Regions from separate parts of the Homo sapiens genome. Here all the other regions are linked to region 1. The links are contacts of gene promoters, found by promoter capture Hi-C in blood cells and fetal thymus (Javierre and others, 2016). All regions are on one chromosome and are shown on one strand. Each heading gives the region's core, a stretch centred on a gene start or on the middle of the fragment in contact. The rest is flanking DNA. Distances are from core to core; before and after follow the strand shown.

Region 1 (7,290 bases), core at 3,098-5,597:
GGAGGTTGCAGAGAAACTGGAACCTCATATGTTGCTGGTGGGAATGTAAAATGGCAGTTCCTCAACAAGTTAAACACAGGTACCATACGATCCAGCAATTCCACTCCTAGGTCCACACCCAAAAGAAGAGCAGCATTATTTACCATAGCCAAAGGGTGGAAACAACTCAAGTGTCCATCAACAGGTAAATGGATGGACAAATTATGGTATACCCCTACGATGAACTATTATTCAGACATGAAAAAGGAATAAAGGAATGATGTACTGACACATGGTACAACATGGATGGAGCTTGGAAACATTTTACTAAGTGAAAGAAGCCAGACACAATGGGGCAAATATTGTATGATTTCATCTACATGAAGCATCCAGAATAGGTAAATCTATACAGACAGAAAGCAGAGCAGGAGTTACCAGGGACTGGGGGGGAGAGAGGGATCGGGTGGGACTCCTTAATGTGCTTGATGTTTCCCTTTGGGATGATGAAAACGTTCTGGAAATAGATAGTGGTGATGGTCTTATAACATGTGAATGTACTTAATGCCACTGAATTGTATACTTTAAAGTGGTTAAAATGGTAAATTTTATGAAATGGGTATTTTACCACGATTTTTTAAAATATCACTGCTGGCAGGTCCATGTCCCAGTTAAGTTGTTAAAATAGAGTGAAAACTGTGCTTTGTTGACCTGGGTTTGGGGCTCCTAGTTGGAACATAAGCGATTCCAAGGAATCTTTACTACATTTTCCTTCAGTATAGAGAGCAATATCATCTAATACTCTCAGAACCCACGGCCCCCTTTTCTATCTACACCCCTTTTCAATCTTCATCAGCCACAGATGAAGCAGGAGGGCAGACATTCTTACCTGAGATTCAGGGAGGTTGGACCACTTGTCCAAGGTCATGTGACCAGTAAGGGCAAAGCTCAGATTGGAATCCTGTCATTTTGTGCTGAGCTTCTGGGCTAATTCTTGGTACTAACAGTGTGTTGTGAGCTGTCCTGGAAACTCAGAACTGCAAGTGCCACTATTCCTATGAGAAAATGTGTTCCAAATCCCAAGTGTCTTATGAAGGATCTTTGTAATTCAAGCCTTCCGTGGGTTGGGGACTGTGTGTTCAGAGCTGGGAGAGGAAGTAGACACATGATACATTTGCCTTCATTCACGTAACCAGATCTCCCCTTTCCGCAGGTTATTGCTGAGGCTGCAGTGCAGTAGCTCAATTACAGCTCACTGCAGCCTTGACCTCCCAGGCTCAAGCAATCCTCCCACCTTAGCCTCCCCCAACCAAGCAGCTGGGACCACATCTCTATAAAAAATACAAAAATTACCTGGGTGCGCACCACCACACCCAGCTAATTTTTGTATTTTTTGTACAGATGGGGTTTTGCCACATTGTTCAGGCTGGTCTCAAACTCCTGAGCTCAAGCCATCCACCCACCTCATCCTCCCAAAGTGCTGGGATTACAGGCAAGAGCCACCTCACCCGGCTAGTTTCACACGTTTTCTGAACCCAAAATGTTCCAAGGGCACTCAGTGCCCAACCACGCAGAGATTTCACATGACATTTCCCTAAAGCCACCTGCATTTGAGGACTCTTGAAGGGAATATGTTGTTTGAATATTCCGTTTTTGCAACCACCCCATTGAGCCCCTGGGACTTGATAATCCTTCTGTCCTCTATGCATTTTCTATCCTGGGCCTCATCCATCCCATGGTGGAGTTGCAGACTGGAATGGATTACTGAGCACCTTGGCCATTGAATTTGAAGCTGTTGCTTTGGCCTTGCCTTGGGCTGCTTATTTTTAAATGACTGTTCACTCCAGTTTGACAGGAAGAACATATTAGAAAGCAGAGGGCAGAGCAGATGGTCAGCATTATGTAGCAGGAGAACTATGCAGACCAACCCTATGGCCCACTAAGAGGAAGGGGAGGATGACAGAAGCAGACATAATCAGCATTTCAGAGACAGTCACCTCCTCCTTTCCCACCCTAGCCAATAACAAGGTGCCTGTTCCTTCCATAAGGAATTTCTAAGGAAGGAGGGCTTCATTTCTTAGATTGGTTCACTGGTATTCTTTTCTTTTTTCCTCCCCAGCACAGGGTAGAGTGATAGAAAACTCACAGGGCTCAAAGTCAGAACTCTATGATTCTCTTCCCAACTCCCATATGGCCTGGAGAGTTGGATTAGTTCTTCATGGATTCAACGAATCACAGTAAATACTTTTGTAAAAAGGTAGGGTGTAAATAAACAAATATGCAAATAAAAAATTAAATAATGTCAAATTCCCCTTTTTAGCAAGATTATATTTGTAATCTTTATTCAGATGATGGTAACATTAATTTATTCATGAAATATTTGTTGAGCATTTACTGTAAGCAAAGCATTGTTTTGGGAGCTTCGAGATATTCAAAACTGAATCCTTCTTCCTACCCTCATGGAGATTGACATTTGTCATTTACGTAAATAACTGTGAACAAGTTGGAAAGTGATATGCCGTAAGAAAGACGGCAATGAAGTGCTTGAGATTCCAGAGGCAAAGAAAAGAAAAAGTTGAAATGAAAAGTGCTGTATAAATAGAACAGAGATCACGCTGTGTTAAGCTAACACAGGAAAAGAGTCCCTGATATAAATGACAATTTTGTCTACAAAGGACTGATTCTAAGAAGGGAAACTCAACCACAGTTTCAAAGTGTTCCTTTTGTACCACACTGGTTCCATTTGTATTTGTATGTAGGAAATAGCTCCCTGGGCTGGGCAAAAGAAATTTTGAACTGTTACTAGTCCCATGGATCATTATTATCTTAACCTGATTCTGTATCTCTTGCTACCTTTGGCTAGTTCAGGCTGTGTTTTCTGACTGTGCATGTAATAAACCAAGTCTCCAACTGACCACATTCCAAAATGTATAAATTAAGTGACCTTGGGCAGGTCAGCTTTAGTTTCCTTGTAATAAAAAATTGAGGATGTTGGACTGCCTGATCTAGCTCTAAATTTCTATAAAACACCCATGGAAATCAATGCCAGCAAACTCGAGATTTGACCTAAATACATATCACATACTTCTTTAATAGCTAATCATGCATTTTTGGTTAGCAATAACCAAAATCCTAAGAGATCTCTTAAGGATGTTTACATTAAAGCATATCATTTAAGAATTTTCCTGTGACTGTGGTTTTGCGTGCACGCATGTGTGTGCACGCGCGCGCACACACACACACACACACACACACACATCAGGCCAGCTTTGGCTGGACAGAGTCCAAATCCCACATGATATAATTTATCTGAGTTTAGGCTCTTTCACTCAACTCTGATATTGAAAAAAATTAATAATAAAGCTTTTTGCCTCTTGACCAGAAGGCCTGTGTTTTTCAGAGCAATATTGGAAATGAAAAATCACAGGATGTCAGCCACCTTGTTTCTCAGTTGGGATGATATCACCAGTAAACTTTTATGTGAAGCAATCAGCAAACATCTCCTGTTTCCCTCTAGCGGAAGTCTGGGATTCAGGATGGTGTTTCAGCTGCTGTGTTAGGACACATTCCAGAGTAGAATGCAGGTCAAATGCTGTGCAAGGTTTTATAGTTTCAATTCAAACCCAAACCTATATATAGTAACATCTTAAAAAAAAAAAGTAGGTAGGAATGTATTCATATGGAATTTTTTTTAACTTCAGAAATTTTGAAAAAATTAAAAAATATTTGTCTCTGTGGAGAGAGTTTAGTTATGATTATTAACTGGTTTCTATCTCCAGCACATGTAGCTGTCAATCAGTCCTCTTTATTATTAGAATTCTCCTGGAGCAGTAAAGGGACTTGTTAACTCCATTGTATGTGATTATAAGGCACTGTTCTAAGTATCCATAGTTGTTTAAATATGAACCCCCGGACACTACCATGATCCACAAGTGGTCCAGGTCCTACAAATGGTGCCGAGTGTTCAGAGGGATGAGTCGGCTGCCAGGCATGATGGAGGGAGAGACATGCGTGTCTATCTTGAAGTCTTTGACCAGGCAGTTTCTATTTTAATTAGATAAGGCAAACTAAAAATCTTTATCCAAAAACTCAATCAAGCTAACATCAGGAAGAAACTGACAGAGCAGCCCCTGGTTGGGGAGGCTCTGCCATTCTGTGGTCTCATCAAAGAAGCAAGACTTTGATTTGGGGGCCTCCAGCACTTTAGCCTCAAAGGAGAGCCCTCTCCCCACCCCTGACCCCAGCACTTACCTGAGCAAAGGCTAAAGAGCAGGAGGAGAGGCCAGGGCTCCATGGGCTACCGGAGCTTGTGTGGACCAGGGCAGAGTGGTGGCCTGTGCTTCTCACTGGCACTCTGGCTGGGTGCTTGTCTGCTGGAGGGTTTGGAAAGCGAGTCGGCTCACTAGAGCTATTGTTTTACACCACCTGTTTGTGGGAGCGACAGCTGGGCTGCCCTCAGCCCTGGAGCCCAGGGAGTTACTGGGACTGTACACCATTACAGATATGCCTCACTTTACACAATTGCTTACCCTTGACAAGCTGAGTATGAACTGCATTATATTTTAAATGCACCAGTAGTCAGATCTTAATGAAAAAAAAATGTATAGGAAGGAAGGAATTATTTTAAATGGTGAGCAAACTGCCTCTCTTTTGTGTAAACCAGAACCTCATCTCTGTGGGTTGACTTGATTAGGGTCATTTGGTCTGAGTAGATAGTCAGCTGTTTGTCCTAAACCACAAAAATCCACATTCTGCAAACATGGCTTCAGTTTCATTTCCTCTGCTTCAGTGTTAGGCTGAGGGTGCCGGGGGCTTTTCTGACTGCCTGGATTTCAGAAAAGTGTAGCTGGTGTTGAGTCTGCTGCTGGGAAGCCCCCACGTTGATTGGGTTTGGTTTTTAACAAAGACAGCTTCTTCCATAAAACTGGCTTTACTGGCCCCCAGAGTGGCTGTTCCAACCCCTGCCTCTGTATCAGGCAATACCTATCCCACACGAACCATTAGCTGGAGCAAATTGCCCACGTCCTATGCACTGTGATTCAAGCGAAGAGTAATTATTGGGAAAAAGTGTCCCACCGCATCAGCAGTCGTTCCGGGTTCCTGCCTCCTTCCATCCGTCCCTCTGCCTACTCTCACTCAGGGAAGCAAAGAGCAGAGTGGTTCAGCTTTTCAATTATCTTGCTTGAAAAACATCCTAAAAACCAGCAGTTAGTAATTTCTCAGTCTGAGAAGTATTGTTACCCTAGCTGTGCTTCTTTGCAGGGTGTGAGGTGAGTTCCCAGAAGGAGACAGTTACTTAAAGGTACCCTGCCTGTTCCTTCCAGGCCTCCTTCCCACATGGAACTAGGTGAGAAAGGTCCTCTCACCTCAAGCCCACAACAACATCCTGACAGATCCTCTCATTCCAGTGGATCCAAACAAATCATTAGAGAAGGGGCTTGGAGGGTAGAGGAGAGAGCTGCAAGCTCATACTATTTATATTTTTTGTTTAAACTGTGGGAGATCAGTTAACTGTTTGCTAAAAAAAAATTTGGTTCTCTCCCTTCCATGGAATAGCCCCGTGGCAGAAATACAACCCCCACCCTCTGACCAGCCCCTTCCATCTAAATGGAGCCATGGGACTGACCTCTGGCCAGTGGCATGAGTGGAAAAATGTTCTCAGACTCACAAACCTACCAGAGCTCAGCCCCGCCCTTCTAGTCTTCTGACCGGCTAGAATGGACATGGTCCCAAAGTTAACCTTAGAAACCATGTTCTGAAGGTGGTGTTGCTTTTGACATTCTGAATCCTTGAATGACTGCATGGAGGGGGACCCCCTATCCACCTGCTCACCACCCAGCACTATTTCAATGAAAACAAAACATGCATCGTGCTGAGCCATCAAAATCCTTGGGTTTATTTGTACAGCAGCTAGTGTTCCGTAATTAATAAAATATGTAATCCTTTGCACTAGTATCCTGAGGTTAAAAATAAATTCTAAAATATGTAGCACTGCAGCAGAAGGCAAGAAAATTGATACTGGAGGCTGAAAATATGAAGACCCATGTTATATGGTATCAAATCATTTCATAAACTGTTGTCCTCAATTACTTGGTGAACAATGTGTCTACTGAGCCTGTAGCTCCCAGAATAGAGGCTGGTAAACCCAAAGTTAGTGCACCATGGCTCTTTCTGGCTTTGTTTAGCAAGTCAGTACAAGGAAGAGCTGAGCTCAGGCAAAAATGTGCTGGTTCAAGAGCAGAAATGAAAAGAAATAGAATGAGTCCAGAAATGTGGAGTCTTCTGTTTTGAACTTCAAAAGAGTAAGTGAAAACATGGAATAAAGGCTTTGAGCAACCAAAGCCCGTTAAGACTTCTCTTTAAACAGGCAGTTTCATCACCACAGCAAAGATCACTTTAAGGGTGCTTTCTTCACAGCCAAATCTATTTTTTTTTTCAGATGGCTTCAAGATGGCTGCTATTAAGTTGAAGGAGAGAGGTATAGTGGTTAGGATGCAAAGAAATTAATCAGATTAAAGAATTGTGACCATGTGTGTATATAGGCACATGGGAATGATGGAAACAAATATTGCAGAAGCTTACTCAGTATTTGAAGGAATTATATTGCCAAAGAGTTCATTAACCCAGGCTACAAAAGTTTTGGTTGTTCAAGGCTTAAAGCAGTCCTTGAGTTCCCAAACACACACGGCCAGAAAGCAGGCTCCAAGATCTGCACAGTCTTCCAAAAAGGGTGCTTTCTCCATCCCCTCCTTCAATTGTGGCCGTGAGGGAAAGTGGGCAAGGAAGAACCTCCCCGGGGCATAGCCAGGAACCTCAAACAGCAACGGACAAGGGAGTTCCACCCACAGAGCAGAATCGGGTCGAATCGAGGAATCTGTTGAGACCTTCTCTGTGCCTACCCTGGCTTTCTGCTTACTGCCAATGCCTGCAACCCTGTAACCGAGGGATTTTTTTTTCTTTTTTTTTGGCCATGGGAACACATGAAACAAGCCTGAGATGCTAAAGTGTTACTGCCTCCAGAAACAGGCCTCAACCAATGTTGGAGGATAAATATCCCCGCCCCATCTCCCCTTGGACTGGGTAACCCCCAAGCGTGCCCTACACTCTATGTCTGTGGGAGTGAGTTCCTGTTGCCCATGATGGAAATGGCTCAATAACCCTCCCTTTATTGGCTTCCTCTCCTTCTCTGTCTCTTCTCCCCAATCTGCCACCTCTCAAGTCAACTCAATACAGGGTCAGGGGGACCTCAACTCAAGACAGAATTTCTCCCACTGCCTGGCATGGGGTCTTCACAGTGATATCATTGGAGGCTTT
Region 2 (7,290 bases), core at 2,731-5,230, 120 kb after region 1:
GCAGACTGTCATTTATTCAACAAATAGTTAACAAAACATCCAGGTACTTTACTGTCAAGTATTAGGTGGTTCACAATAGAGTTCCTATCGCTTGGTAACCCCAGTGGTAAAAAGATAAAACAGGTCAATACAAATACACAAAGTGCTAAATTTAAAAAAGTCTATCTTGCCGGGTGCGGTGGCTCACGCCTGTAATAACAGCACTTTGGGAGGCTGAGGCGGGCGGATCACCTGAGGTCGGGAGTTTGAGACCAGCCTAACCAACATGGAGAAACCTGTCTCTACTAAAAATACAAAATTAGCTGGGCGTGGTAGCGCATGCCTGTAATCCTAGCTACTCCGGAGGCTGAGGCAGGAGAATTGCTTGAATCTGGGAGGTGGAGGTTGTGGTGAGCCAAGATTGCACCATTGCACTCCAGCCTGGGCAACAAGAGTGAAACTCCATCTCAAAAAAAAAAAAAAAAGTCCGTCTTCAGATTGATCTATTTTAATAACTATATACATATAGAATCTTGCTCTTATGTAGAAAGATTCTGTAAAGTGATTCACAAAACCAAGTGAATCCAGTATCTCCCTCATACCATAAAACCAAGAAACTCACTGCCTAGTAAAACAGAGCACAACAATTAGGCTTACATAAGATCTCAGAGCTACTGCTTATGTCCAAGTACAAAAGCATCCTTGCAGTCTTCTCCTGTAGTCTTGAAATATGGTTTGGCCAAGGGAAGGCAAATGTGGGTCCTATATGTTTAAGAGAAAACCTTAGGCTTTGGCATCAGACAGTTGTAAGTTTAAATCCTGGATCTGCCACTTCCTAGCTGGGTGACTTTGGGGAAATCATTCGTCAGATTCTGCATCTAAAAAATAGGAATAACATCACCCTACCCCAGATGGCTGTGAGGATTACATGAAGATATTTAAGTCAAAGCTAAATATATATAGTAGGCTCGAGTGGTAGTTCCCTTTCTCCTTCTCTGTTAGCTTAGGCCCCTGCAGAGAATGACAGAATGAGTTACCAACACTAAAGTAAAACAGCAAAAATATTCAATAGATATGCATGGAAGATGGCTAAATAAATAACTGGCAACACTGGCTGTACAGGAACATCTCTGCACTGATTTACTTTACAGTTAACAAAAGGCAAGGAGGAGCTCTTTGTGAAATTTTCTCCTGGATGTCTCTGAATAAGTTTGTATTTGCCACTTGGTTAAATAGAGTGGGAAGACAACAGAGTGCAAATCGGGTAGGAGGAGCAAGCAAAGAAGGTCTTTCCACTGTGTCCTGGGAATGAGGCCTCTGAATTCAAAGGAGAAAGCTGAGAGATTTACATATATTGAAAGCGGGACATATTAAGTGGACCTAGTGACAGCTACTGAACCCTAGACTACAGAGCATTGATTTGTAAAAACTGTTGAGGCTAAATCATTTCCCTTTGACTTTTATAAGATAATTTTCTTTTCATCTTTTCCTTTTATTATCTGACTCTGCCCTTGCTTAATAGCTGTTTATTCCTTGGTGAACATACTTGAAGCTGCATAGGCCCAACTCTCACCTAGGTAGAGTTCAGCAAGATGAAAATTCATTTTCTCCAGAGTGTTACTATAGTAAACAAATAGAAAAGAAAGGCTTTTAACTGCTACTGTTGTACATAATGCCACTTTCTAGAAAGAATATCTTTCTCCAGTGATTCCAGGTTTCGGGTTTCCTATTTTAAAAAGCTGTTTAATGCTGTGCCCAGATGCATTCAGATGCATTTCAAGATATACAATTCTAACATCTTTTTAAAAATAAACAAAATCCTTAATATACCATCTTTTCTATTTTTCAGCAAATAAATCATATCGACAAAAAATTCAGTCTAGAAGAAAAAATGATGACAAAATATATACAGAATAGCTTTCGGAATTTTACTTTACTTTATGCAAAACCAAGAATTAATTCTAATTTGAGGCCAAAGTGATTTGAAAGGATCTCTTCAAAGGAAAGCTCCAAGCTAACAGATGTTTTGTGTTAACAAACAGAAAACAAAACATATACAACACACTCGTCTAAGCTTACAATAAAATGTTAGAAGTATTTCCAGCAACCAACATACAAAAACAGTTTTATTTATCATAAATATATATTTGTCTGTTGTTTACCAGAGTCAAAAAAGCTAATCTAATGGTGAAATATAAATATACATTCATTCAATCATAAGATACTCTTGGAAGAAAATTTAAAACAGAAATAAAATATGATGATGCATTCGATTAAGTACTACAAAATAAATTTAGATGAATTCTATGAACTAAGGAAGGCTATGGAAGAGAGAGCATAGTTATATACAACATTAAAATGATATCCCATCCAAAACTTTGTCAGGCTATGACTTTTGTCTATCTTGCTATACAATTTTGGATTATGGAGAAAAGTATTAAATTATGTCAACACATAATGATATTTCCTTGGCCAAATAAATCATTTTCAGTGAAGAAGAAATCCAATTTGCCTAACTAAACTTCCAAAGAAGCCATCTTCTGAACAGTGGAACTCACATAGCTCTGGAAGGTAGAACTGATATAGAAGGATTAACTCGAAGTCCGTTTAAAAAGCAGTTAGATATTCCTCCTGCCCTCCCTAATCCTGTCCCTATTGTTATCCCTTCACCACCATGGCAGAAGACTTAAGTTCTGTTTTCTAGGCAGGATAAAACAGGGAGATAGTGAACTGAGGGAATACAAGCAGAGGTATCATCTTGAAAACTAAGTGAAAGTTTTAAATACCCAAAATTTAAATACTAAAGAAACTGATACCTCCATTTCTCTTCACCATGAGGCTATCGGAAGGCTTGTACCTTTCCTGATAGGAGACTGAAAGATTCTACTCTTGGAAATCTGATCAACTCAACAAAAAAAGACTTAAGAGTAGAGACCATCATCCTATAATTGTCAGGCTTCCTCCAAGCTCTCAGAACTACTAGCCAGCCTTTTAGGGTCCCATATGCTTCAATATGAGCAGTCAGCCAAGGGCCACCTGACATCTGAGGAAAACTCCCCTCATGAAAGACAAAGACTATGATAAACAAACAGAATCAAAGCAAGTTAGAGGAAACAAAATCATGCATGGGAATGAAAATATGCTCAAAAAACCCAAAATAAGATGTTTCCTGTTCCTATTCTTGAATAGAATTTAACCAAAAAACATTAGAATCCTGTAAAAAAAAGGAATATAGAATATATAGAAAAATAAGTAGAAAAAGGAATATAGCATAAATGAAAGTTTTTTTAAAAAAGTTGAGAAAATTTTAAAGAACAAAAAGACAAAAAGATAAAAAAAAGGAGAGAAAATAATTAAGATAGAGAATCAATCCAGAAAGTCTAACTTCTTTTTTTTTTTTTTTTTTTTTAGACGTAGTCTCGCTCTGTCGCCCAGGCTGGGGTGCAGTGGTGCAATCTCAGCTCACTGCAAGCTCCGCCTCCCAGGTTCACGCCATTCTCCTGCCTCAGCCTCCCGAGTAGCTGGGAGCTACAGGCACCCGCCACCATGCCTGCCTAATTTTTTTGTATTTTTTTAGTAGAGACGGGGTTTCACCATGTTAACCAGGATGGTCTCGATCTCCTGACCTCGTGATCCACCCACCTCGGTCTCCCAAAGTGCTGGGATTACAGGCGTGAGCCACCGAGCCCGGCCTGAAAGTCTAACATTTATAGAAAGAGAGAAGAGACAAAATGGAAGGGAAAGGAATCAAAGCGATAACTCAAAAAATTTTATTATAATGGAAGAACACACATTTACACAATGGATGAAAACAGACCTACACCAAGAACTGGTGCTCACAAAATAGTCCAGTAATTGCAAATAAATCCTCAGACTGGCAAAATTTAACAAGCCTAACAATACTAAGTACCAGCAAGGATACAGAGCAGTTAATATAACCAGTACCTGCAATATTGTTTAACAAAGGGGTTTTGTATTATTTACTAAAGTTGAATATATACATACCCTACAACATATAAATCCTACTCCTAGGTAATATCCTAGACAATGTGTGTGATTATATGTACCAGCATATATATACATCTGGCAGCAACATCCATAAATGGCCAAACCCACATTAAGTATCCAGTAAAACAGAAAAAATTACGGGACACATACTGTGATAATTAATATTATGCATTTGAGGGATCCTATCACATGATTTTTCCCTCTTGAAAATTGTTAATGGTTCACTATTGCCTATGAGTCCTTAAGAATCGGTTATTAGTTTTACTTACTTTAAAGCACCAGAGACTGGCATAGTACTTGGCATATATCATGCCTCCTAAGTAAGTGGAATAGAATTAGTAAAGACTTCATAAATAGTTTCCCCTAAGTTAGCTAGCTATATGTAACAATAAAAAGAATTTTTGAAAATACACAGAAATTAGCCGGGCGCGGTGGCTCATGCCTGTAATCCCAGCACTTTGGGAGGCCAAGGTGGGCGGATCACGAGGTCAGGAGATCAAGACCATCCTGGCTAACATGGTGAAACCCCATCTCTACTAAAAAAAAAAAAAATCAGCCAGGCGCCCGTAGTCCCAGCTACTCAGGAGGACGAGACAGGAGAATCGCTTGAACCCGGGAGGCAGAGGTTGCAGTGAGTCAAGATCACGCCACTGCACTCCAGCTTGGGCGACAGAGCGAGACTCGGTCTCAAAAAAAAGAAAAAAAAATATATATATATAGAGAGAGAGAAATTACATATAACTGCCAAAATATAATCAGGTTACCGTAGTTTTGCTGGACATAATTTAAAAAGTGATAATTACCATGATAGAGTGTTTGCCATTTACAGAGCCATAATGGTCTTAGTGTGATGACCTATATAATATGAAGCTGCTTTTTCTATTGACATTTGGGAGTAAATAAGTGATATACAATTTTTCTTTTTTTTCTGAGACAGAGTCTCCCTGACCTCAGGCTGGAGTGCAGTGGCATAATCTTGGCTCACTGCAACCTCCACCTCCCTGATTCAAGTAATCCCGAGTAGCTGGGATTACAGACGTGCACCACCAAGCCCAGCTAATATTTAGTAGAGTTGGGGTTTTGCCATGTTGGCCAGGCTGGTCTTGAACTCCTGGCTTCGTGTGACCTGCCTGCCTCAGCCTCCAAAAGTGCTGGGATTACATTCGTGAGCCTGGCCTACAAACAACTTTTCTAATTTAGTGAGCCAATTATAGTAACTTGTGCTACCTACTATGTTTCATTTTACTACTAAACCACAGGACCAATACTAAATACTGTGTCCCACTACTACATAAATTTATATTTGTACTTACAGAAAAGTATTTTACATGCATTCCAATCATTTAAAAACTAGAGTAGGCCTAGAAATAATCAACATGTTTGAATAATAGACTTGGCATATTCAAGAGTTGGTGATCAGTCCCATTAAAAGCTAATTGAAATCTTATTATAAATGAGGTTACTACTATGTCAGGATAAAAAGTCACACCATGACAGAAGTCTACAAAAGCACAGAGTAAAACATGAGTGTGAGTGCTTATAGAGTTCTATACATGTATAAGTGTGAGTGTGTGTATAAACACAAACCCACAAATTCATATGCAGGTTTTTCAGATCCCTATTTAATTCTGTTAAACAATACAATGCTTTTATTTAATCATTTCCATATAAATTACACCATCCTAAGTATCATATGTGGAATACAATTTAACATTTTTCTTGGTGACTCAAGTTTATTAACATATTAGTGTTTGAATACAGAAATATCCCAAAGACTATTGTAGTGTATTGAGTTGCCTTTCTCTTACCTAAATTGACCCCAATTATTAAACTTCTAGTTCTTAGATCTAGTTTTATATTTCTAAATCCTCCTTGCAGGTTATTAACTGTGTTCTCCTTCCAATTCGCTTTTTATCCACTGTAAGCTTGGAAACAAGACAAAAGGATTTATTAAGTTTTATATAAAACTGTCTTAAATAGACTCTGATTGGGATTATTGAGCACTCTTTTGCAATAAAGGCATGGGTTTTGTGATGGGTATTTAGGCATTTCCCATTTATTTCCAGCTTCAGGACCATGTTTTGGAGGTCTGATGCTGCCAACAGTCTGGTTTCCATATGGGCAGGATGCTACTATAAATGAGCAGACACAGGCCTAAATTTGGTCAAGTACATGCCTTAGGTTTAGGACTTAGTGTTCATTAACAATCAGCAAAGTATCACATTTTTCTCAGAAAAAAATGTCTTACTAAAAAAATCAGTTTATTAATGTATAATTTACATAGAATAAACTGCTTCCATTGCAAGTGCACAATTCAATGAGTTTTGGCATATATTATTATCATGGTCAAGATGCAGAACATTTCCAATACCTCCAATGGCTTCCTCATGCCCTTTTGCAGTTTGGCGTTGTCCTATTTAACCACTTAATCTGTTTTCTGTTACTTCTGTTACTATAATTTTCTATTTTATATAAATGGAATTACATAACATGTATTCTTTTGTGCTTGGATAGCTAAGTTTTTAAGATAAAAAATTACATTAAGCTGATGGCGATTCTTCTTATCAGACTTTAAATACAACTAGACTAGGATTTCTGACTATGGAAAAGCAATAAACCATATTTGTATTTGCTACTTAGTTTCTGGGGTTAATTAGCTTTTTCTCTCTAATGAAGATATTAGGCATCAGATATAATCAACCTATTAGATGAAAAAAAGAATTATCAACATAACAATAGTTACCACTTGTTGATTTGTAATGGCTAATAAGCAAAAGGCTTAAAATGTAATACAGAATGTATTTCTGTGTTTATTTTAATAATACTATCTAATACTTTTTGAGTGTTATATCCTAGGCACTATGTATGTATTAACTCAAATAATCCCTCCAGTGTCTCTAGGAGGTATTACTATTATTACATCCTCATCTTATAGATAAGGAAACTGAAACTTAGGGAGATAAAGTAACTTGCCTAAAGTCATATAGAAAATGTAAAAAAGAATTTGCATCCAGGACTGTCTGACTGCAAGGCATTTTCTGAATAATCAACCACCTATATTTATTTAAAATCACAGGGCCAAAAAGATTATCAAAAGCCCCATAATTAGGCTATGTATCTTTTAGAGCAACATAACAAAGAAATCATGAATATCTGTCTACTTAAGAGATCCTAAGACAAGAGTCGTAAACGGAATGAAAAATAGATTTCTGCAGTTTCCTATTTATGCAAAGAACTGTATCACAGAAAAGCGTTCTAAGTCTGACAATTTATTATTCAATGCAATTCTACTAAATAAGCCCA
Region 3 (7,290 bases), core at 1,353-3,852, 100 kb after region 1:
TTAAAAAAAACTTGCCTAAAATATCTCCTCCTGCAGGATCAGCTGTAGAAAGGTTCTTAAAGGGTATGCCTTTGTTGTTTTCACTGCCAAAATATCAAACCATGTCCTCAGTTGAATAATGTTTCTTTGTTGGTTTCATTTTTCAGGGTTTTTGAGATACTAGGTATAGAATTTAATACATTACGTTATACCAACGATACTTTTTTTTTTTTTTTGAGACGGAGTCTTGCTCTGTCGCCAGGCTGGAGTACAGTGGCGCAATCTTGGCTCACTGCAACCTCCGCCTCCCGGGTTCAAGCAATTCTCCTGCCTCAGCTTCCCGAGTAGCTGGGACTGCAGGCACACGCCACCACACCCAGCTAATTTTTGTATTTTTAGTAGAGATGGGGTTTTACCATGTTGGTCAGGATGGTCTCAATCTCCTAACCTCGTGATCCACCTGCCTCGGCCTCCCAAAGTGCTGGGATTACTGGCGTGAGCCACTGCGCCTGGCCATGATACTGTTTTTAATGAACAATAGCATATTAAATTAGTTACTGTAGGCTTTTTGTTTGTTTTCATTGTCTCTTCTCCTGTAGCTTACATTAAATTTAGAGTTTTACACTTCCACATTTGAAAACCTCTCCAAAAGAGAAAGTTAGGTTCACATCACAAGATATGAAAGGTATTTCTGGGTTCCCTTTAGAGATGGTTGTCTTGAGGAAAAGTATTCTTTGTTTTAGTAGTAAGCTGAGCTAGCACTCTTCCCCACAGAAGTACCATTTTTTTACATGAAAGAATGAGTAAAACAAATTTTGGTTGTTCAGCCTTGGGTGTTTGGCATTTTCTATAAAATGAATGAAGTGCTCTGGCTACCTCAAGGAAACAACTGACAGTCAATGATAAAATTAAAACTTTCAGGTAAAATTAGAATTTTGGAAAATTTGTATCTGCCACCCTAAACTTGACAGCTTCCTACTACTTCAATGAGTTATCTGGTAAGATCAATGATGATACTAACAAATGTGACTTTTTGATATTGTATAAAATATGTCAACATTTGGAAGACCTACGTAACTCAGTGAACCAATATTTTACAAGTGATCAATGCATGATGTTTCAAAATCATGCACAGTTGAAAGATCCATTTGAAGTTCAATAGACCAATGGGTTTCAGTGTAACAGAGTAAAAAATGGCTATTAATAAGGTTTCAGACTCCACATTGCAAGTAACCTTTAAGAAATTACTACTTGTCCAGTTTGGTATCACCACAGACTGAACACAGAAGCATTTATGAGAACCCAGTTTCATTTCCTTAAAATTAAGCCATACATTTAAGAGATTCACAGAAATGTAAAACACTGCTACTCTTCTAAATTTTTTTGTTTCAAAAATTGGTTATTTAATAATATTGTTAACATGTAATTTTTATTGTTTCTTAAAGATATTTTATAAAATATATTTTAATTTCCAATATAGTAAATATCAACAGATATAACCCACATAAACAAAAGCTCTTCAAAGTCTGCAGTAATTTTTAAAGTGTAAAGGGGTCCTGACTCCAAAAAGCTTCAGAACCGCATATCTAATCTATCAGTTGTAACTTTTACTGAGCAACAGAATCACACATGTGATATAGATGTGTAGATAGAAAGATAAATACATTAATACAGATGTTTAGGCTCCATGTTGATTATACTGAATCAAAATTTCTGCAGATATCTCAATTTTATAGAAAGCTTCATTGGTGAGAACACTGATCGTCAGCACTTTAATAAAAAATTATTTATCACTGCATGTTTCAGAACTTCCCCCAAATTTAAAGTTTTATTCTACTTATTTTATTTCTCATAAGTACTAGCATTAGTAAGACCATCTTTAATTTTTTTCTTATAGTTATGAAATGCTAATCTTTCAGTGTTACTGATTTCTCTTCTTCTGAGAGATAACATAGAAAATGATAAACTGACAAACTGTGTTAAAGACCTGAGAGGGTTTCTGTTTGTTTGCTTCTGTTTTCTTTTTCTTTTTTTTAACTTCTAAATAATAATAAACTCTCTACAGTAAGTGTTACATATAGACTCTAGAGTATTGATTTGGAAAGCACTTCAACTATCTTAAAAATCTTGTTTATTTGGGAGGTGACTGTCAACTCAGAGGTCTTTTGTCAGTTTCAAAGAGCTAGGGATGCTTCAACTTTGACAATGAAATGCTAATAAGCACTTTGAAGACTGAAATGATGAAAACCTAAAACTGTCAAACTGAGTTTAAGTCAACTGTTGAAGACGTAAATGTATGCTGATTTATCTAAAATATAATAAATGCAATATGCCTTATATTATAAATCTTAGTTATCAGATTTCATTAATATGCAAATAAATTAGGTTAATCATTTAATATGGCTCAATTATTTAAAAATTTACCTGTATCTCATTCTACTAAGTATACTGCTATTTAAAATTCACATGTTCTGGCTGGGCACAGTGGCTCATGCTTGTAATCCCAGCACTTTGGGAGGCTGAGGCGGGCAGACTGCTTGAGCCCAGAAGTTCGAGACCAGCCTGGGCACTATGGCAAAACCCCATCGCTACAAAAAAATTAGCTAGGCATGGTGGTGCATGCCTGTAGTACCAGTACTTCAGAGGCTCAGGTAGGAGGATTGCTTTAGTCCAGGAGTTATTGAGGCTACAGTGAGCCAAGGTCGCACTACTGTAGTCCAGCCTGGGTTGACAGATGGAGACCCTGTCTCTAAATAAATAAATAAAAATAAAATAAAATGCACTTGTTGAATTAGTGCAATCTTATGTGTAATTTACACAACCACTAAGTCTAAATCCTTTATTTATTTATTGTTGTTGTTCCTATGAAAGGAACAAGATTATTTGAATTTGTACATCTGTGTGATACTTCATGAAGAGAGGACAGCATTTGACATAAGCAACTAAGAGAGAACTAAGCTACACTTTAAGAAAGGATATTTTATTTTTCTACATTAAAAATTCGATATCATAGGTTTTCTTATTCAATGAATTGGAATCTTCGTTCCTTCAGCATTTGGTAAGAGTTTATTTAAAAAACGGAACATAAGAGTTGCAATTCTAGAGTGACATTCTTTAATGGCCCATCTGAACCATGCTTCAACTTCCTTTGGGCAGCTCTAGAGGTACTACTCCCTTTTGGTAAACTAACTACTTAAAAGATAGTGATCTACTTAGTCTTTATTCAGTCCAACATTAAGTCTCTACAATGATACTAAGGGGCATTGTGTGGAAGGGTCTGGCTGTCCTCTATGATGTCACTCCCAAAAATAGAGGATGCACTATTAAGACAGCCCCCTAGAATATCTTGATAATTCACCATAAACCTATCACCCCCAAAGATCTCCATGTTAATACCTATCCCTAAAAGACTGCATTAAAGATTAAAGGAGATAACCTGGTGAAGTACTTCGCACAGCTTCTGAAACACCATGCTCAATAAATGTTAGTTATTTCTGTTATAATTCTAAGCTTTACAATCCTTAGAAATGTATAGTAGGGAGCTAGAACAGACTTTCAATGTTCTAAGGCCAAAGGGAATGGTTTGATTGGCTCAAAGATTTATAATCCTAGTCAGTAGCAGATTTAAGTATTCACGTCTATACTTAAACCTGTATGTGTTCAGCCTATTCTACCTCTTGGAATAAGTTGTCAGAAGTACAGAATCTTTAATCGGAAAAACCTCTTAAAGGTTAACAAAAAGAACATATGGGTAGAAAATTATGGCAGCTAGAAGGGACCTTGTGGTCATCTATGAAGCTGAGTCCTTCATTTTACTATTGAGGCCCAGAGAGGTTATTAAGACATGCTCAAAGCAAAAATCATTAGCTAAAGTGACAGACTAGGATCCAGATCTCTTCTTCAAAGTAGATGCCCCATTAAAAAGTTGGTTATTTTTCTGTGTGTGAGGGAATTGCTGGATAAACAGGACATAACATGTGATAAAGCTGCTTTTGAAGTGTTTCTATTTAAAGAGTAAATGTGGATCTTTATGTAAAACAAATCTCAAAAAGTTAAGAAATTAAGGGAGGAAAAGAATAGCAGAAAAAGAACCAGATACTGTGGATCACTCCAAGCTATGACCAAACACTTAGCATATAGGACTATAGAAATTCTTTTAGGAATCTTAACACCAGATAAAACATTAAAGATCCATTACTGTTTAAGTACCTTTTTCTAAAGAAAAATAAATGAGCTTAAAAGTTTAAAATATTTTTGTATAAAATCAAAAGTGATGTAATATTAAAAACATTTATAATCAATGTCTGTATGATTTTTAAAAATAAAACACAGAAAAAACCCATCCCCTTGCAGTAACACTGCTTCCAAAAAAAAGCATTTTCATATTCATTAGTTAGGGAAAGGCATTTTGTGGGGGTTTTTTCTGTAAGGTGACAAAGGGAATTCACTATTCACATTGAAATACTTGGTAATTAGAATGCTATAGCCACAAGATAGCAAAATAGTTCTGGTTTAAATAACAATTTCAGCTAAGCCCTTCTATGCACACTGCAGATGGAAATTATGGAAATCCTTTCCTCTCAAAATACTTTGTGAATTTAGAACTGGGCAACTCTAAAGTGTAGACAAGCTTGACTATGATTACATATGAAGCTAAAGTACAAACTTTCTATATTCAGCAAATTCAGAAAAATGTTTCTCTCATATAGTTTTATAATTTTAAAGATACAGACTATTCCAAGAAAAACAATTTGCACGTTTTTAATTATCTCCGAAAGAAATTAATTTATAAATTTAAATTTTTATTAGTTATCCTTATTTATAAATAAATGCTGCTTTTTAGCGCATTAAATATTCTGGAAACAAATGAAAAAGCCATTTTGCAAGACTAAACAAAATTCTAAACTTACAAAGACTGTTAAAATGACAACTTTTTTTTACTTAATTTTTTTTTTTTTTTTTAAAGATTACTTAAGGGCCAGGAGCAGTGGCTCATGCCTGTAATCCTAGCACTTTGGGAGGCCAAGGCAGGCGGATCAGTTGAACTCAGGAGTTGGAGACCAGCCTGGGCAACGTGGTGAAACTCTATCTTTACTAAAAATACAAAAAAATTAGCTGAGCGTGGTGGTGCACGCCTATAGTCCCAGCTATTCGGGAGGCTTGAGGCATGAGAATCACCTGAACTCGGGAGATGGAGGTTGCAGTGAGCCGAGATTGTGTCAAACTGCACTCCCGCACAGGTGACAGAGCGAGACTCTGTCTCAAAAAAAAAAAAAGATTACTTCAGGAAGATTTATTGTTAAACATAGACAGTATAGGGAAAAAGAGTACTGGTTACCAATCACTAAATAACAAAATGTCCTGGCAAGAAGAGTTTCTCTCTTTCTACTCCAATTTCCTCATCTTTAAAAATGATGCAAATAATATTTAAGTTTCTTTTTTTGTATTCTGGGTGTGAATGACAAAAATTAACTTTATGAACAGAGCCATGATGGTCTTGTTCATTACATAATGAATATTGAAAGAATGAATGAATAAAAAAATTAAAGGACTAGCTAAATTCCCTGCTTATAAAGTAATATAATATAGACATTTAAAACATAAAGCAGATATATATATACATTCACATGGAAAGATTGTTCATAGCCTAATGGTCGATAAAGCAAATTACAAAGTAGTTTATATAGAAGAAACATTCCTTGCCCCCAACTCTGGAAGGACAAACAGCAGAATATTATTAGTTATATTATCTGTCAATAGTGTGACCTGGGTTAATTTTTATATTCTTATTGTTTCTCATAGTTTTATTATTTGTGTAAGCAATGAACATGGGTTACTTAAAATAAAAATATAAAAGTGTACATTAATCTATGCGTAGGAAGACAGACTAAAAGGAAACTCATCAAAATGTTAACATAAAGTTGGCTTTGAATGGTGGAGCTATAAGTAAGCCCCTTCCTTCTTTCTTTGTTTTTCATATCTTTCTAATTTTTTATGAAGAGCTTGTATTTCTTTAATACTTGGAAAAATATCTTAAATTTATTAATTAGATATATCAACATGATTTGTTTTGAAAGTTAAGAACAGTTTTAGATAATATAATTGGACTTGCTCACAAATATCACCTACACATGTTGGCATAACATGATGAGTTAGTCAGTGCAAATGAAATATTTCTACAATTTTCTACTACTTTGGTACTCTGGTACCCTCCTCTCTGCAATAGATTCCCGGTGCTCCCAGCCTTAAGAAACACTACACCTCTAGAATATGGCCAATAAACCATGCAGAGTTCTAAAGATAGGTCACAAGAAGAGACTGCTGAGCCCCTAATGGCTGCTTCCTTAGAGAGCAAGTCCAGATCACTGGAGGGCCCACTCCAGTCAACGTGCATTGAAATCAGTTACTAAACTAATATGCAAATAATTTAATCTTTTTAAAAGAAATTAGAATGAAGTCAAGGTTCTGCCTATAGTAACATTCCTCAAACAATTACATTCCAATAGGTTTTCCTAAAGGCAACAGGAGAAAAGTTATAATCATTTCTCCAGGAATTTTACACAACCCGCAATCCACCCATGGGAGGCTGCTACACAAGAGAATGTCATTCTTCACCTGGGAATGGGTAAAGGAGAACTCCATTCTACAGGACAGTTGAGTGGGCTGCACCTACATAGTTTCAAGGAGCATAAGGAGAGAAATCTAAATGTTGTAGTGGTGTTCCATAGGAAACTCTGAAATCATACAACTGCCATAATTTTCCCATTTGAGTTAGACTGTGAGAGGGAAATGCAGAAATGATAGTTTTTCTCACTGTGGTACCTGGTACCATGAGGTAGAGTTCACACTCAGAGAGCAGGGGATGCTCTACTTTCCCATCAACTGTGATCATGAGTATCACCTGCTGGGGGACCTGTTCAGGCCAGAGAGGAAGAGCAAAGGTATAGTCAATGATTAAAGGAGGGCTGGCTGAGTGAATCTGGCTCAGGTCCAAGATCCCAACAGAGCAGAGGCTCTTCTCCCTGCACCCAGGAATCCTCCCTTGTTGTGTACTCAAATTTACTGAAGCATTTATTACTGATTAAAAGGTGAAGACTCCCTAATGATACGACTGAACTTCAACAAGTTACACTGCCTTGTAATCACTACTATACACCTCTAATTCCTTTGCTGCTCATATTTCCCTAAGAAAAATGACCTGAGAAAGTTTACATTCCAAAATTGGAGTTAAGGAAGGTAGATATTAAAGATAATTAGATGATATGCTTATAATAAATAAAAAGAGGAAAAACAAAGAAAGGAGTACTTCAA
Region 4 (7,290 bases), core at 2,007-4,506, 68 kb after region 1:
TTGCCTAGAATTGCCACACCCCCTAGAAATCTGCAACCCATTCCTCTGGGTATGGTTCCTGATAAGACATAATTCAAAAGAACAATCAGCTTCACCCTATTACATTATTAGCGAAGTCAAAAATGGTCCCAAGAAAAGCAACCTTGTAAGTGGGCCACAGATATTTTTTCTAGGCCACCTCCAAAGCTTTTGGTCCATCTCGACAAATGAAAGTGACAGAGTATAAGGCATGAATTACACTTTAATGAATAAAGGGCAAAACGAACTAGTTTCAAAGCCCTCTTGTGCAACTGGAAAAAAAAGACCATTTTATTACCATGACATTTGTGATTGCTTTTAACCTGTGAACAACTCCTTTCACATTAACTTCTCTGTTAAAACAGAGATGAAAGACTGGATTAATTAACGGATCCCCAGTACAGTCTTATCAGTGAAGGCATTGGTCAGAAGCAGGCTGCAAAGGACAGGGTGGGAAAGGGTGGGCTATTGAGGGGCCCATATGGCACAGGCCAAGTGTCATGTGTCTCCTGGGCAATGACTTAGATAAAAACTGAAGTCATTCTCAGTTGGGCCTGCCATTATTCAGACTAAAATCCTGGCTTATAAAAGGAAACAAACACCCTGCTTCTCATCATGTTTACAGCATTCATATCTCCAGTTTGAAAGCCAGTAACAGAAACTGAAAAAGAAATCCATGATATAGGAAGATAAAGAAAAATTCACCATTAATCTTCATTGTTCCTTTCAAGTCAAAACATTCCCTTTAGAAATAAGCATGAATGCAAATAGCCAAGGAGCATGCCTGCAAAGCTTGCTGCAAATGTAAGCCACGTTGGAGATGATATGAACATTACGGGAAATAAAATTTTGCTTGGGAAGGTGGCAATGACATTTCAGCTGCAGCTTCTCATTTGGGACTGTGATGAGTCAGTTCTCCAGCACAGTGTTGGGTGATGAGGGGAGAGAACAGATGAACAAAATCAAAACGAAAGGAATGTAGGTAGGCAGGCAGCTGGTCAGGAAAGTTTTTTCTTCCCTCATTTTTATGTTTAGGGTAACTAGAATGCACTCTTTTAGGTGACCAATGTTTGTCTCACCAAGATGGTCTTAAACTTTTTGGTCCATATGATATGGAATTTAGAAATCAAACCCTAATTTGGCCGGGCGCGGTGGCTCACGAGGTCAAGAGATCGAGACTATCTTGGCTAACAACGGTGAAACCCCATCTCTACTAAAAATACAAAAGAATAGCCAGGTGTGGTGGCGGGCACCTGTAGTCCCAGCTACTCGGGAGGCTGAGGCAGGAGAATGGCATGAACCCAGGAGGCGGAGCTTGCAGTGAGCCGAGATCGTGCCACTGCACTCCAGCCTGGGCTACAGAGCAAGACTCTGTCTCAAAAAAAAATAAAAAATAAAAAAATCATACCCTAATTTTACCACTTCAGTTTAAAGTACTTTGATTTATATTATTATGCCGTGAAAAGAGAATACATAACACTGGCTATGATCATTAGCAAGAAATACATACAAGAGTACTTAAATTAGGAGGAATACTTACTATAGGAGTATCTTTAGTATCAAGGCAATACCTTCTTGCCTTGTTGTTAAGTTACGTCTAGTCAAAACTACTAACCACCCTATAACTCTGGAGTAATAATGTATTAACAAAGAGCGAGGTTTTGGTTCAGTTAAGCACCACGATAATGTCAGTTAAGCACTGACACTATGCTGGCCATTCCTAGTCTTCTTGTCCTGATCAAATGGATGTGTAATTGATGACCATGGCAGGAAAGGCAGAAGAAATGCACCAGGCACTTGCTGAAACATAGCTTTAAGCACTGGCCAAGGCTAAGTACCTGGAATAGAAAGGCATGCCCACTGGCCAGCAGCAGACAGGAGTGAGGGAGGCACTAGGCGGCTGGGGAAGGGGCGCAGGTGCTAATGGCCTGTATAACCAGCTGCTATAGAGGTGGCCACACGGGAGAATTTGCAGGGTCTTTCTGCGCCACATACTTAACCACACAAGTAGTTAACACGGAAGCACCGCTTCAAAGAGAATGACAAATGACAGAAAATTGGTGACCTAATTTTAAGAGTAAGAAAACTGTTCAAAATTGAGAGAAATACCATAAAAGCCTACTAGACATACATTGACCATACCACAAATAAATGATGTAACTTTAACTGTGAGCAATAACTACAGGGAAAAGCTGGTAAAATATGATCATACTATAACAATATGACTATTAGGACAGTCACCAGGGCAATACAGTAATTTAGTTCTGCTCCCATATGAATATTATAAAAATGGTTTATGTTAATTGGTATACAAAACAATATTTTAAATATGTGCAGAAAAAATAAATTATTCTCATAAAAATACATTTACCACAATTCAATATTGGCCTTATTAACAGAGCTTAAATTCTTTTATGGTTTCCTTTATGATCCATACATTCCCAATCACCGCTATGTTTTTGAGGGAGAAGTATATCTAAAATTACAAAATGAATGCAAAGGTTGCACAGAACTTGCTTAGAATCATAAACAACCATATTAATGCTAGAACACAAACACAATTTCTGGTGTTGATGTTCTGTGCTGAGCTGAAATAGTGGCCCCTTACACAGAACCATCAATCTGAAACCCAAGAATCTGGATGTGGAAATATCAAAGTTCTCAAAGCAATCCTTTGATTATTATATGCTACAAGGTACAGATTGTATAATAATGATGAAACAATAAATATAACCATTAATTCAAAGACATTTTCCATTTCAAAATATGAGTATTTAGAGTATTATAAAATATATAATTTTAATGTTTAGGCTTCTTTTAAGTTTCAGAAGACAATTTCTTTTTGATTTCTTTTCCCCTGATAGTTTTGCCTCCAAACTGAATCATGCTCAAGGTTCAAAAATGTTAAATGCCATCACCTAAAACACTTCTACTTAGAAAGTAAGCTTCATTACTGAGATGAATGAGTTCGTATTCAAATATTAGTAAAAATCAACACTTTGAAATACCAGTCCCCTAAGGTTATATTATGTAGGTACAATAGGAAAATAAATAAGTAAATGGTTGTGCAATAAAAACCACTTACATTCCATAGCTGAGTGACAGAAAATCTCTATACCTACATTATAGATAGGTAACTGAACACTGACATACGGAAAACCCTCAGACCAGTCTACAATGTCTTGTGATCCACAATTCTTTGAAGCTAAGTCTGCATTAATATATTATTTCCACACAACCAGGTTTCAATTTCTTTTTGACTTGGTTATAAAAGTGTCATCTGAAGAAGTACTGTTAACATATATTACAATATGAATGCAAGTATTCCTATACTAAGAAAAAGATCTGACTAAAATGCACAGGAAGTTATTAAAAGTATGTAGTTAAAACCCTTTTTAAAATCCCAGTAAATTCTGGGATTTAAAAAATTCTGTTTTTCTTCTTTTTCACTGATTGCTGCTCTTACCTTTAATACTGCCTTTCCTTAAGTACTTGGTTTAATTGATTCTTCTTTTTCTAGTTTCTTAAGATGGAAGCTTAGCTCTTTGACTTAAGACCTTTTTTCTCCCTTTCTAAATATAAGCATTTAATGATATAAATTTCCTGATAAGTACTACTTTAGCCACATTCTATGAATTTTGATATGTTTTATTTTTCTTTTCAATCAGTTCAAAATATTTTCTAATGTATCTTGTGATTTCTTCTTCAACCCATGAGTTATTTAGCAGTATGTTATTTAATTTATAAGTATGTGGGAAATTTTTCAGATATCTGTTAGTGATTTCAAATTTAATTCTGTTGTGGTTGGAGGATATGCTTTGTATGACTTTAACCCTTCTACATTTATTGATACAGTCATGTGTCACTTAATGATAGGGACACTCTCTGAGAAATGCTTCATTAGGTGAACATTATAGAGTGTACTTACACAAAATCTACATGGTAAAACCTATTATGTACTAGACCTAATGGTCTAGCCTATAGATCCTAGGCTACAAACCTGTACAGCATGTTACTGTACTGAATATGTAACATTAACACCATGGTATTTGTGTATCTAAATGTATCTAAACATAGAAAAGACAGGGTAAAAATAAGGTATTATACTCTTATGGGACCACTGTCATAACTGTGGTCAGTTGTTGACTGAAACAGTTATATGACACATGGTTATATTTGTCTTATGGTCCAGAATATTATGTATCTTGGTGAATCTTCCAGTTCACTTGAAAAGTATGTGTATCCTGCTGTTGTTGAGTGGAGTACTCTATAAATATCAGTTAGGTCAAATTGGTTGATACTGTTCTTCAAGTCTTCTATACTCTTACTAATTTTCTGTATATTCTGTCTATTTCACCCTCACCTCAGTTGCTGCTTTATGTATTTTGCACCTGTTATTAGGTACATATAAATTTTAAACTGTTATATCTTCTTGATTAATTTTACATTCTTCATTCCCAATAATATTCCTTGTTCAAAAATTGTGTTTAAAAAAGTACAGTCACTCCAATTTTCTTTGAATTATTGTCTACATATACATATTATTTGCTAGATATAGAATTCTAGGTTAATGTTTCTTTTCCTTCAGTTCTTTGAAGATGTCGCTCCACTGTCTTGCATAATTTCTGATGAGAATTTTGCTTTTTCTTTCACTTCTCTCTGTGCCCTTTATATTTAATGTGGGTTTCCTGTACACAGCATATCACTGGATCTTGCTTTTTTGTCCAACCTGACAATCTCTGCCTTTTAATGGTGTGTTTGAGTCATTTTCATTTAATGTAACTATCAACCTGTTTTCTATGCATTCCATTTGTCCTTTATTCCTTTTTTTATGTTTTATACTCTGAATTAACTGCATATTTCTTATGACTCCATTTATCTCCACTGTTAGTTTAACTATGTCAATTTTAGTTTTATTCTAAGGTCTAGAACATACACATCTTTTTTTTTTTTTTTTGACAGGGTCTCACTCTGTCACCCAGGTTGGAGTGCAGTGGCACAATCATAGCTCACTGCAGCCTCACACTCCTGGACTCAAGTGATCCTCTCACCTCAGCCTCTTACGCAGTGGGAACCACAGGCATGTGCCACCACACCCAGCTAATTTTGTCTCTTTCTCTTTTCTTTTCTAAATAGAGATGGAGTCTTGCCACGTGCCTCAGGCTAGTCTCAAACCCCAGGGCTCAAACTGTCCTCCTGCCTCAGCCTTCCAGAGTGCTGGAATTACAGGCGTGAGCCACCATGCCCAGTCTACAATATACACCTTTAACTTACAGTCTACCTCCAAATAGTATACCACTTTATGTAATGCCCAAGAATCCTATACATGAATATACTTCCACTTCCCCCATCCTCTACTCTACATTACTGTTGTCATACATTTTGCTTGTATAAACTACATAATATATTACCATTTTTGCCTTAAAGAGTCAACTATCTTTTAAAGATACTAAGTCAGGAAAAATATCTTTTAAAGTTACCCATGCTTACTATTACTTCTAGTGTTCTTTATTCCTTTGTGTAGTTCTAAATTTCCACCTGGTATCATTTTCTTTCTTAAAAAGTTACTGTAATATTCTTGTAGTACCAGTCTCCTAGGGATGAATTCACTCAGCTTTTGTTTGTTTAAAAAAATAAATATTTTCTCTTCATCTCTGAAAGATATATTTGCTAAATATAGGATTCAAGGTTAATAGATTTCTTTTCCTTCAGTCCTTTGAAGATGTCACTCCATTGTCTTGCATAGTTTTTGATGAGAATTTTGCTGCCATTCTTTATTCATTTTTATGTAATGTGCATCCCCCCAACTGCTTTTAAAAAAAACTTTGTAAGATGTGTGAGTACCAGTGAAAAAGGAAAATAATTTGTTTCCTCAAAGTTGACATATCTGTCCTAACTAAAATAATCCTCGAAGATATTAACAGAGAAGATAGTAGTATAAAAATAATTTATATTCTTTTAAACAAATGTGCATTGTATTCTTGAGTGTGAGTATGCACATTTAAGATTCTATAAAACCACAAAACTATAAACACATTATGAAGCTGAAATGTGAAAATAAAACTTAAGAGAAACCAAACGTATGTATAATTTCTAGATCTGAGAGACATCCTCTGTACATTACGTGTGGGATGAACAACCTCAATTCTTAGGCTGAGGCAAAGTATGGATTCTCCTTGACTTATGATGGGGTTACATGTCAATAAACCCACCATAAGTTGAAAATATCATAAGTTGAGAGTGGGGTTTCTACTTTTGATATTTTCAATTTATGATGAATTTATCCAGATGTAATCCAATCCTAAATCCAGGACTGTACTGAATGAATATTGCTTTCAGACCATCATAAGGTCAAAAATCATAAGCTGAGCCATTGTAAGCCAGGGGCCTTCGGTATCACTTTACAGTGAAAACTGTTCTTTCCCCAAATTTTCTCACTCTCTCTGGCTGCTTTTACAATTTTCTCCTTAACACTGGTTTTCAGCAATTTATGATATGCCTTGATGTTGCTTTCACCATATTTTTTTCTGTTTAGTGTTTAGTGTTCACTGCATTTTTGGATCTGTGACTTTTCATCAAATTTATACAATTTTTGGTCACTATAGCTTTAAATAATTGCTCTGTCTCCTGGTTTCCCATCACTGTTCCTTCTGTGACCCAAATTACACTTATGTTAAGACTGCTTGCTATTGTCCCACTGGTCACTGATGTTGTGTTCATTTTTTTTTTTTTTTTAATTCTCTGTTCTTCATCTTGGATATTTTGTATTGTATTTTCTGGTTTACCAATCTTTTCTTCTGTGGTATCTAATATGCTGTTAATATAATCCAGTGTATTTTTCATTTCAGATATACTTTTCACCTCTAGAGATTCAATTTGGATTTTTAAAGACAGCTTCCATTTCTTTCCTCACTACAACCTTTAGTCTACTGTTAATTTTGGTCACAGTACTAAGATGATACCCTCTTGAAGAGTCTTAACCAATGCTCCATGTGTTGTGACTTCTTTCTGTTTCTACTAGTGGGCAGAATGAGTCTTCAGTGAGTTTCAGCCATTGTTTAGCCTATTGCTTTCTGGTGGTTTCCCAATAGTTTCTTCCCACATATATGCAGATAAGTCATCAGTAAAAGACTCAAGAAGGCTCCTCGGCAGATCTCCAGAATGCCTTTTGTGTGCAGCTCTGTCTCCTCAGGCAGTCTCTGCCCCATACATTTGAGCTGCTTTGCACCTCCCCCACGACCCCACCCTAATCTCTTTGTCCTTCACTGGGGT

The links. The method cuts DNA at HindIII sites, captures the fragments that hold promoters and counts their contacts. A CHiCAGO score of 5 or more calls a contact.
Region 2: a fragment that was not itself captured here is called in contact with the fragment with the promoter of CHRNA1 in region 1 in 3 of 17 cell types (total CD8 T cells, naive CD8 T cells and naive CD4 T cells); the score reaches 6.3 in total CD8 T cells.
Region 3: a fragment that was not itself captured here is called in contact with the fragment with the promoter of CHRNA1 in region 1 in 2 of 17 cell types (total CD8 T cells and naive CD4 T cells); the score reaches 6.5 in total CD8 T cells.
Region 4: a fragment that was not itself captured here is called in contact with the fragment with the promoter of CHRNA1 in region 1 in 2 of 17 cell types (naive CD8 T cells and total CD8 T cells); the score reaches 5.1 in naive CD8 T cells.

Annotation. Positions count from the first base shown.
Region 1 is chr2:174,760,125-174,767,414 of GRCh38, forward strand. CHRNA1 (cholinergic receptor nicotinic alpha 1 subunit) reads right to left here and starts at 4,348. Exons shown (of 9, transcript NM_000079.4): 1 at 4,228-4,348. The coding sequence starts at 4,270. RefSeq lists a silencer at 1,757-2,051 and an enhancer at 4,349-4,848. The HindIII fragment of the contact is 3,214 bases long and covers 3,338-6,551 here.
Region 2 is chr2:174,880,599-174,887,888 of GRCh38, forward strand. The region is part of intron 5 of CHN1 (chimerin 1); the gene reads right to left. Among named protein-coding and RNA genes, the nearest start is that of CHRNA1, 120 kb to the left of the region's middle. The HindIII fragment of the contact is 3,859 bases long and covers 2,052-5,910 here.
Region 3 is chr2:174,862,137-174,869,426 of GRCh38, forward strand. The region is part of intron 6 of CHN1 (chimerin 1); the gene reads right to left. Among named protein-coding and RNA genes, the nearest start is that of CHRNA1, 100 kb to the left of the region's middle. The HindIII fragment of the contact is 1,770 bases long and covers 1,718-3,487 here.
Region 4 is chr2:174,828,837-174,836,126 of GRCh38, forward strand. The region is part of intron 7 of CHN1 (chimerin 1); the gene reads right to left. Among named protein-coding and RNA genes, the nearest start is that of CHRNA1, 68 kb to the left of the region's middle. The HindIII fragment of the contact is 591 bases long and covers 2,962-3,552 here.